Linked DNA regions of Homo sapiens: regions 2 and 3 are each linked to region 1. Evidence: promoter capture Hi-C in 16 types of primary human blood cells and fetal thymus (Javierre and others, 2016). All regions are on one chromosome and are shown on one strand. Each heading gives the region's core, a stretch centred on a gene start or on the middle of the fragment in contact. The rest is flanking DNA. Distances are from core to core; before and after follow the strand shown. Region 1 holds the start of PI3 (peptidase inhibitor 3). Region 2 holds the start of WFDC10B (WAP four-disulfide core domain 10B). Region 3 holds the start of SPINT4 (serine peptidase inhibitor, Kunitz type 4).

What was found. The method cuts DNA at HindIII sites, captures the fragments that hold promoters and counts their contacts. A CHiCAGO score of 5 or more calls a contact.
Region 2: a contact is called between the fragment with the promoter of WFDC10B here and the fragment with the promoter of PI3 in region 1, in 8 of 17 cell types (M1 macrophages, M0 macrophages, naive CD8 T cells and 5 more). The highest score is 12.4, in M1 macrophages.
Region 3: the fragment with the promoter of SPINT4 here is called in contact with the fragment with the promoter of PI3 in region 1 in 5 of 17 cell types (M1 macrophages, M0 macrophages, total CD8 T cells and 2 more); the score reaches 10.6 in M1 macrophages.

What each region holds. Positions count from the first base shown.
Region 1 is chr20:45,173,511-45,176,332 of GRCh38, reverse strand. PI3 (peptidase inhibitor 3) reads right to left here and starts at 1,431. Exons shown (of 3, transcript NM_002638.4): 1 at 1,332-1,431; 2 at 197-472. The coding sequence starts at 1,410. The coding sequence ends at 198. RefSeq lists an enhancer at 642-1,841. The HindIII fragment of the contact is 9,599 bases long and covers 1-2,822 here.
Region 2 is chr20:45,703,675-45,706,703 of GRCh38, reverse strand. It overlaps WFDC10B (WAP four-disulfide core domain 10B), which reads left to right and starts at 1,685. Exons shown (of 4, transcript NM_172006.2): 1 at 1,685-1,786; 2 at 2,143-2,207. WFDC13 (WAP four-disulfide core domain 13) reads right to left here. Exons shown (of 4, transcript NM_172005.2): 2 at 2,110-2,260; 3 at 777-841. The coding sequence ends at 799. MIR3617 (microRNA 3617) reads left to right here and starts at 1,524; the gene lies at 1,524-1,602. The HindIII fragment of the contact is 3,233 bases long and covers 1,144-3,029 here.
Region 3 is chr20:45,721,006-45,723,806 of GRCh38, reverse strand. SPINT4 (serine peptidase inhibitor, Kunitz type 4) reads right to left here and starts at 1,460. Exons shown (of 3, transcript NM_178455.3): 1 at 1,325-1,460. The coding sequence starts at 1,439. The HindIII fragment of the contact is 5,556 bases long and covers 1-2,801 here.

The sequences.
Region 1 (2,822 bases), core at 182-2,681:
CATCAAAGCACTCAGAGGCAGTGAGGAAGACAGATCATCCTTCTAGGCACTCTGGTTATAGCCTCTCAGACCCCTCAGTCTCCCAGTCTTTCTGTCACCTCCCACAACCTCCCTCCCACCAACCTGGGATGCTTCCCCACCGCTCAGCCTTCTTTTGTGTCTTCAGGGGTCTCCTCGTTCTCCAGCTAGTGCTCACCTCACTGGGGAACGAAACAGGCCATCCCGCAAGAGCCTTCACAGCACTTCTTGATTCCTGGGCAGTCAGTATCTTTCAAGCAGCGGTTAGGGGGATTCAACATGGCGCACCGGATCAAGATAATGGGGCAGGAGCCAGGCTTAGTGGAGACTGGACCTTTGACTGGCTCTTGCGCTTTGACTTTATCTTGACCTTTAACTGAAACTTGTCCTTTAACGGGATCTTGTCCATTGAATGGAACACGGCCTTTGACAGTGTCTTGACCTTTAACAGGAACTGTTAAAAGAAGAAACGAGCCCACATTTATACCCAGTAAGCCTCTGCTTCAGCTGCCATGTCTTTCCTCTGGGTCTGGGTCCATCCACTGCTTACTGCAGCATCCTCAAACCATGGCCTGAGTAGGGAAGGTACACCTCTGGGAGCTACACTCTTGGAAGGCTCTTCCTTTTTTGGGGTGGTCTACTGGACCAGAGTTCCCTTGAGTATTTGTTTCTTCCCCCTTCCTCCACTCCAAGTCTCTCAGGAGCAGTGGTCAGACTGGGGTGACACCCAGCAGTGAAGAGGACACATTGTCATTTGTTAGGAAGTGCATTGGAGTAGGAAAGAACCCTGAGCCACATACTAGGAGACTTGAGCCCCATCCTGGCTCTGGGAATTACCTTGGCAATTGCTCACTCATTTCTACATTTTTGGTTCCCTCCTTATAAAATGGGGGTCCTCAAACAACATGATTCCTGAAGGCTTGTTGTTTCTTAACCTCCTTTTAGAGTACTGATTACTCCAGTGCTTTTATGGGGCAGAGAAACGGGGGACTGTGTCCACACCCAAGGTTTAAAATCCTGGAGTTCATTATTTTATTGCACATTCTGCACAGGTATTGACATCTGAGGCCAAGGCCACATACCAACATTACTTCCACAAACAGTCCTGATATCTCAGTCACTGAGGTGGAAAGCACGTGGAGTCCACCAGCCAAAGTCCTATTTTTTCTGAATATGATGGCAAAGAACAGAAAGCTGAAATCTGGGCTCCAGTGCTGCCTACTGCTTCAGAAGTGCTCCCTGTCCTGGCCCAGGGTGTCCCAGAGGGTCTCCCCTTAGTCCAACCCAGCCCAGCAGGTCACCTGTTCACTCACCTCCCGTGACAGCTGCCTCTAGAACCAGCGTCCCAGCGATGAGGAACACCACCACGATCAAGAAGCTGCTGGCCCTCATGGTGTCAGGAAGGTGTTTGGCTAAGAGCTAAGGCCATACCAATCTTTATGCAGTCCAGCTTGGCCTGGCTCCAGGGGCGGGTCTGTGGTATTTACAAGGGATAATTCCTTAGCTGTATTGGGAAATATCCACCCCATTCTGGGAGGGACCTGGGGGCTTTCCCTCAGGATTATTCACAGGAAGAACTAATGGACATTACATCACATCATCTCTGATTGTCCCAAGAGTTTTCCTACTTTCTCACAGAGTAGAAGTGCTGGCTCACTTATTAGGTAACATTACAATGAAATTCTTCATGTTTTGAAATACAGTGAGACCCAAGAAGAGAAAGGAATCACCGAAGGTTATTCAGCAAGTCACTGGTAGATCCAGTCTTGATTACAAAACCAAGGTGTTTCTCCATTATGCTCTGGTGCTACAAACCCCACCCAGATCTACTTTATCATTTTACCACTCCCAGCATCAAACTGGGCATTTCCTTCCTTCTTCCCTGGTCCTGCAAAAAACTCTGTAAGACAAATTTGCCTTGAATACATAATGACTAATTATTGCACTTTGCTGTTTCAGAGACGGCCTTTCAGATGCATCAAGAAAGTAATTGGAAGGTGGAATTCTAGGTCTGAAGAGGGATGATGCCCTTGAAATCACAGTGGTAGGGAGAAAATAATCAGAAAGTAGTAGAAAACATGTATCATGTATACATTGGACATCTACAGTGTGTGTGTCCAGCATGCCTCCCCACTTCTTTGAACAGCACCCTGTTTCTTGTGAAGAATTGTTGTCTCTTTGAACCATCAACTTGTGAGTCTAATGGGGACTGCTAATCATGAAAGCCTGACCCCTGACCACAGGTAGGGGTGTGTGTGTGTGTGTGTGTGTGTGAGTGTGTGTGTGTGTGTTGTGTGTGAGACTTGGTCTGGTCTATTAACATATTTTATTTGAATGAGTAATGAAAGGGGAAAACGGGGGTTCCTTCTTCTGGAAAAGGTGATATATATGAACCAGGGAATTCCAGAAGTGGTTATCTAAGTCTGGGGGTGGAGATCAATTGTCTGAGAAAAACGACTCTAATACACTGAGACAAGGAGAGAAGTGATGGTGAGAGAAGATTCAGATGACACAGCCAGGTTTCCCTCCTTTACCTTGAGAGCAGTTCTTCACACACCCTTCTCATGGTTGGGTTATGAGGCAATAAATTAGCCCTCTGCTTCAGCTAGTCTGACTTACTATTCTGTCATTGTTACCAAAAGTTCTGAGTAATAGAAATGAATATCCTGAAGTTGGGTATTGTCAGGGACAGAATCTGAGTTAAGAAAGTCACTGAGTTGAGGTGGAGTTAAGGCAGGGAAGGTAACAAACTAATTATTGGACACTAATTCAGCTGGTGAAATCCCCACCCCTTGTCGATTTAG
Region 2 (3,029 bases), core at 436-2,935, 530 kb before region 1:
GCCTCCTGGGTTCAAGCAATTCTCCTGCTTCAGCCTCCTGAGTAGCTGGGATTCCAGGTGTGCACCATCACACCCAACTAATTTTTGTATTTTTAGTAGAGACAGGGTTTCACTCTGTTGGTCAGGCTGGTCTTGAACTCCTGACCTCGTGATCCGTCCACCTTGGCCTCCGAAAGTGCTGGGGTTACAGGTGTGAGTCACCATACCCGGCCCACTCCCTCTTTTTTCAGAGAAAAAACTGGAACCTGAATGAGTGACCTTGTAAGTGAGTTGCTGGCAGTTTCTACCTTTGCAGAGACCAAGTTCTTCCATCTACATGGCCTTGTGTTGTCCTCCCAATACCCCAAGGCATGGATGTTTTCTTCATATTTCACATGAGGGAGGTGACTGTCTCAGAGAGGTACAGTGAGCAGACCAAAGTCTCAGAGCGTGAAGGGCTCAGCTTGAGTCCCTGCCCAGGGTGCTGTCAACCCGGAGGCTAGAAGAGCTTGTTCCTTGACAAAGCCTCAGATCTGAGTGCCCTGGGTTCCCCCTGGGCCATGACTTGGTTCCTTACATTGCTCTGTGTTGCAGAATTCATGCTGGACTGCACCGTGCCTCCCCCAGGGAGTGCAAAGATAGCCCTTGGAGGGGAATGATGGAGGAGGAGGCAATCAGGTAATGAGAGGCCATTCTGAGCTTGTGGGAATGTAGTGCCCCTGGTGAGGCTACAGGAAGAAAGTGAGCATCCCTGGGAATCTCACATGAGGAAGGCGAGACCAAATCCCTGTACTTACAAAATGATCTAGGAAATATGCCTCAGTTGGCAGGCATGATGACTTCTGAGCCCTTGTGTTTGATTCTGTAGAAGAAAAATATTTTCAAATATTAACTAGTGAAGTTTTACTTTTAGAGATATATATTTTTCTTTCAATTACTTCCACCATTAATATTAGACCATGAAGCTCATTTCTCTTGCCATAGGGAAGGCAGAACCTCAAAAAACTCAATGACACCAAAGAGTTATATTTATGCTTCTGCATTCCAATGTAGAGCATTGAAAGATGTGGAATTTAATTGCAAGGGCTAGTCTCTTCAAAGAGAAGTGGTTGCCTAATCCCCAAAATTCACAGCAATTATGTTGGCAAGTAATGTTTTAAAGCTTACATGGATTGTCTATTTTAACCTCACTATTATTGTTCCAGTCTTAAGGATGAGGAAGTTGATGCCCAGAGAGAGGTTAATTAGCTTGTCTAAGATCACTTAAGGTCACTTAGCTAAGAAGCCAGGATTTGAGCCCAGGTGTTTGGCTTTGAGCCCATGCTTAATCACTCTGCACATTATCTCATGCTGGGTATTCTGCTCATGGTAGGGAATACAGCAGGGAACAAGACTGCCAGGCTTCCCTCAAAGGGCTCATTGGTTGAGTCTTCCACTGTGAGTCTTTTGAAATTTCATATGGGCCTTGCAAAGCAGGAAAAAACAAGAGTACTTATTTTACTCATGAGAAAAAGAAAGTAAAAAAGAGGGAATTGTCTTACTCAAGGTCATAGAAAGACATAGTTGCAAGATGGGATTAGAAACCATATGTCTCATCAGCACCCTATGTCCTTTCTCTGCCCTGGGAGCACACTCCATTTAGCAGGCTTGCGGCTAGTGTTAATGTCTGGACAATTAATCAAAACTTCCTTTGGGCTGGATCTCCAGAGCCCAAGAACACTGGTGGCCAAAGGATGGTGTCTTGTGAAAGGAGGGCAAGCAAAAGTGTAGGACAAATTTTGCTTTGGGATTTTGGTTACACCTGCAGGTACAGTGTCCCTGGGATAAGGGTGGATTCTGGGTCGGGGGAAGGTCTGTGGATAAAGGCATTTGTGGGTGTGTTCAGAGAGGCAGAGTCAGAAATTCACGGATATGGTGATGGGATGTGGTGATTGGGAGGGGAGGAGGGCTTTTCTAATCAGGACTTTTATGGAAATTATCCTTGGTCAAGAGAAGGGGCATGTTGGCAACATGGCCACCAAGGAAAAAAAAAAAAAAGGAGAGATCCAGCACAGTTGCTGGTAAGGGACTCTTCTGCTGGGCTCCCACCAGCAGCTCTAGGATCAGACCTGGATATGAGATATCTCTTACCTGTTGCGCTTTTGAAATGTTTCTGATGAACAGACTATCCCACAGAAGGAGGAACAGCACTGAAATCCTTTCTCGCAATCTTCCTGCATTGTACACAGGTGAGTACAGTTTTCAGGTGCTGATATGCAGGGTGGAGGTTCCAAGATATACTCTGGAACACAGAACAAGTAAGAGAAGGGCCTCACCAACAGGCTGGAGTAATGTTCAGAACTCAGAAAGCCCAGGGAACTGCCAGGAAACCTGCCACCCTCATCTGCCTTGCATGGTTCCAGGGTGGTGGCATCAGGTTTTGTCCTCAGCTGCTGCCTTCCTCTGAGTTCTGAGCAGGGAAGCAGGGCATGGATATTTTTTGATCAAGAACAGAGTTTGGTAGAACCCTGCACCCATTGGTCATTCACCATCCTTGTAGTTCAGATGCCAAGCCCCCATTGACTATGGTTGTGTCCATATCAAGGGTATCAATGGTGTATGTGGTGAACAAGAAAGAGGTTTGTATGTTCGTTCTGCACTGATTCATTGTGTGGTCTTGAGCAAGTTGTAGAGCTTCTCATTAACAACATAGTTTACCCTGGGGTTAACCTAACATGGGTTATTTGTGTACAGGAAGAATGAGTGAAAGGTAAGTTTTGGTAAAGGATGAAGACCATGCATTAAACTGAAGGTACTGGATCAGAGAGCTGGGACCCAATTCACAAGTAAGTTCTGGGAGTGACTTCTTTCATGGTAAGAAGGGTGGGGATTTCAGAATGGCGTTCAAAGATTCAGCTTTTTTCTTCCTTGGTGTCTCTCGATCAGGAGGCCAGAGCACCAGGATGCCCCACTTTCTACTGTTAGAGAAGAATAAGCATCATTATGTTGACTTCCTATTTCCTCCCCTACCCCCAAGTATTTCAGTTCAAAGCTAAGACCTACCTGCCCTG
Region 3 (2,801 bases), core at 211-2,710, 550 kb before region 1:
TTAAAAATTCCTACGTTTAGCCTGGAACTATTCTCATATTCAAGGACTCTGAAAGATGTGGTTTTCTCTTGGAGTTAGAGTTGCTTGGAAATGTTGCCCTTGCACAATGCAAATTGGTTAAAATTCCAGGTTGTTGTCGTGAGCAGTGTATTGGAGAAGGAGAAGTAGTGATCAGTGAAAAAGGAGGTTCCACCACTAGCTTGTGCAGGGCGATGAGCTTCCCTACATTTCCTATCTTACAGTTTATTAAAGTACAGTATCCTCCTGCTTCCCCACATCATCTTCCTTTCCTTTTAATTGCCCACATAGGACATGCAATTCAGAGTGCCTCCTCCCCAGTTTCATACATTCACTATACTACCTATACTTCAAAATTTAAGTAACCATGGCTGCTGCTATCTTTAAAGCAGGATGCATACTAAAATGCTAAAATGCATAACCTTGGGGTGATGCTCGTTCATCCTCATACCCCGTCATCTTCTCCTTTCTTGCCTTCTCAGAGGCAAACCCTCTGTTTTTATTGTTAAGAGTTGGGTAGTAAGTGGTTGGAACAGCCACAATCATGGTTGTATTGACAATCCACCTTACTCAAGCAGCCAGCCTGGAATTTACTCTCTGGTAAAGTTATGTGCATAATCTTATTTCATACTCACAAACACCCTCTGCAGCAGGCACTTTTCTGATCTTCATTTTACACATGGGGAAACTGAGACTAAGAGAATAATAAGTGGTTGAGTGACTTGTCCAAGGGCACATATCTGCTAAGTGAACAGGTCCAGAACTTGAAGTGTCTGACTTACGGTATAAACTGTGCTACTTTCTCGTCCCCTGGAAGCGCTGAGCCTTCACACACTATCTATGGAAGAAAGTCTCATTGCCTCTCACATTTACATTGTGAGCTCCTCTAAACAGGAATCATCTGTCCAAGAGTTCTGTATATGTCCATAGCCCAGATACTGAAAATGTCTTAATTTGCTCTGTCTCCAACCCCCTTTCTCTCTCATCCCAATACATAATCATCAATGGTCTGGGATCTTTGAAATTTGTCACACAACCTCTGATTCAAAATACTTCCAGTCCTTTGGACCTCCTATAAAAGAGGTCTCCATCTGGAAAGGACTTTGTGTCATTTCTGTTTTTTCTCATCAAACATCCAGAGGACCCCTAGTGTAAGTAATGCCCTGAGTCAAGGGACTAAGTGTCTATGGGTATTGTCATGAAAGGAAGACCTTCCTGGACTACCTAGATAACACACTTTTCTCCCAATACCTTCTCTCTCATTCATAATTGACCTTTGGATTTATTTTCTGCCTTAGCTTCATACCTTTGAGGTCTCCACATATCTTCTCCGCAATTTTATTAACACCACCCAATAACAGGGTATTCAATGAGCAGAAGATGAAGAATCTTAGAAGAAATCCCAGCTTGGCAGACTTCATGGTGCAGCAAGCAGCAGGCAGGATAGTTGTGGTATCACCTGATGTTATATTTTGGGCTTGATACTTGAGACGGTTGAGCTCACCTACCCCAAGGGCCAGGACTGGACATTACTAGGTGTTGAGTTGAACAGTGAGTGCTTGGGTACCCAGCCATGAAGCTGAAGGCCCCAAACTGATTAGACCCTTGATAGTGAGTCCCATGTTCATCTAGAAGCAATAGAAACTTAAGGATCAGAGCTTCTGCATATATTTAATCATGAAGGGTAGAATCATCAGAGTGAGGAATTAAAAAGGGATTTCTTCCTTTCTCTTTTTGACCTTTTATGCACAGAAGAAACTAATCATGGCACAAGAGAAAGAGTGCAATAGCACTATAATAATAGTAACAGGGTTAGTTATAACCTAGAGTACTACTTAATTCCAGGTGCTATTTTTAAGTAATTTGTATATACTTTATCATCATATACACCCTATGAAGTAAGTACAGTTATTACCATCATTTAAGGATGAAATGGAGACAGAGATTAGGTTACATGTACAAGGTCACTCATTTATTATGTGGTAGAGACAAGATTTGAACTTGGCTTCAGAGTTTTTGTTCTTAGTCACACTACACTATGTTATCTAGGAACATGAGGACATCTTGGATCTGTTTTCTCCTAAAAGTTTTGAAGTTTTGGCTTACCTTTACACCCTAAAACCACCTGATGTTGATTTTTTGGTAAGGTATAACATAAGGATCCTTTTTCATTTTTCAGTGGTTCCAGACCTATTTATTAATGAGTTCCTCTTCTATTTAACTGCAAAATAATTTTGCTTAATTATGTGGGATTGCTTCTGAGCCCTTTATTTCACTCCACTGTATACCCCCACTCCAAAGCCACACTTAATCTCTTGAACTTTGTTTATCTTAGGATTTTGTATTTTCATATAAATTTTAGTCAGTTTATCAAGTTATTCAAAAGACCTGTTTCGGGCCAGGCGTGGTGGCTCATGCCTGTAATCCCAGCACTTTGGGAGGCTGAGGTGGGTGAATCCCATGAGGTCAGGAGTTGGAGACCAGCCTGGTCAACATGGCAAAACCCCGTCTCTACTAAAAATACAAAAATTAGCTGGTTATGGTGGTGAGTTCCTGTAATCTCAGCTACTTGGGAGGCTGCGGCATGAGAATTGCTTGAACTGGGAGGCAGAGGTTGTAGTGAGCTGAGACTGTGCCATTGCACTCCAGCCTGGGTGACAGAGCAAGACTCTGACCGAAAACGAAAACAAAAACAAAAACAAAAACAAAACACCTATTTTGGATATTCATTTGAATTGCACTGGATCTACAAATCAATTGGAAAAGAATGATATCCTTATAAT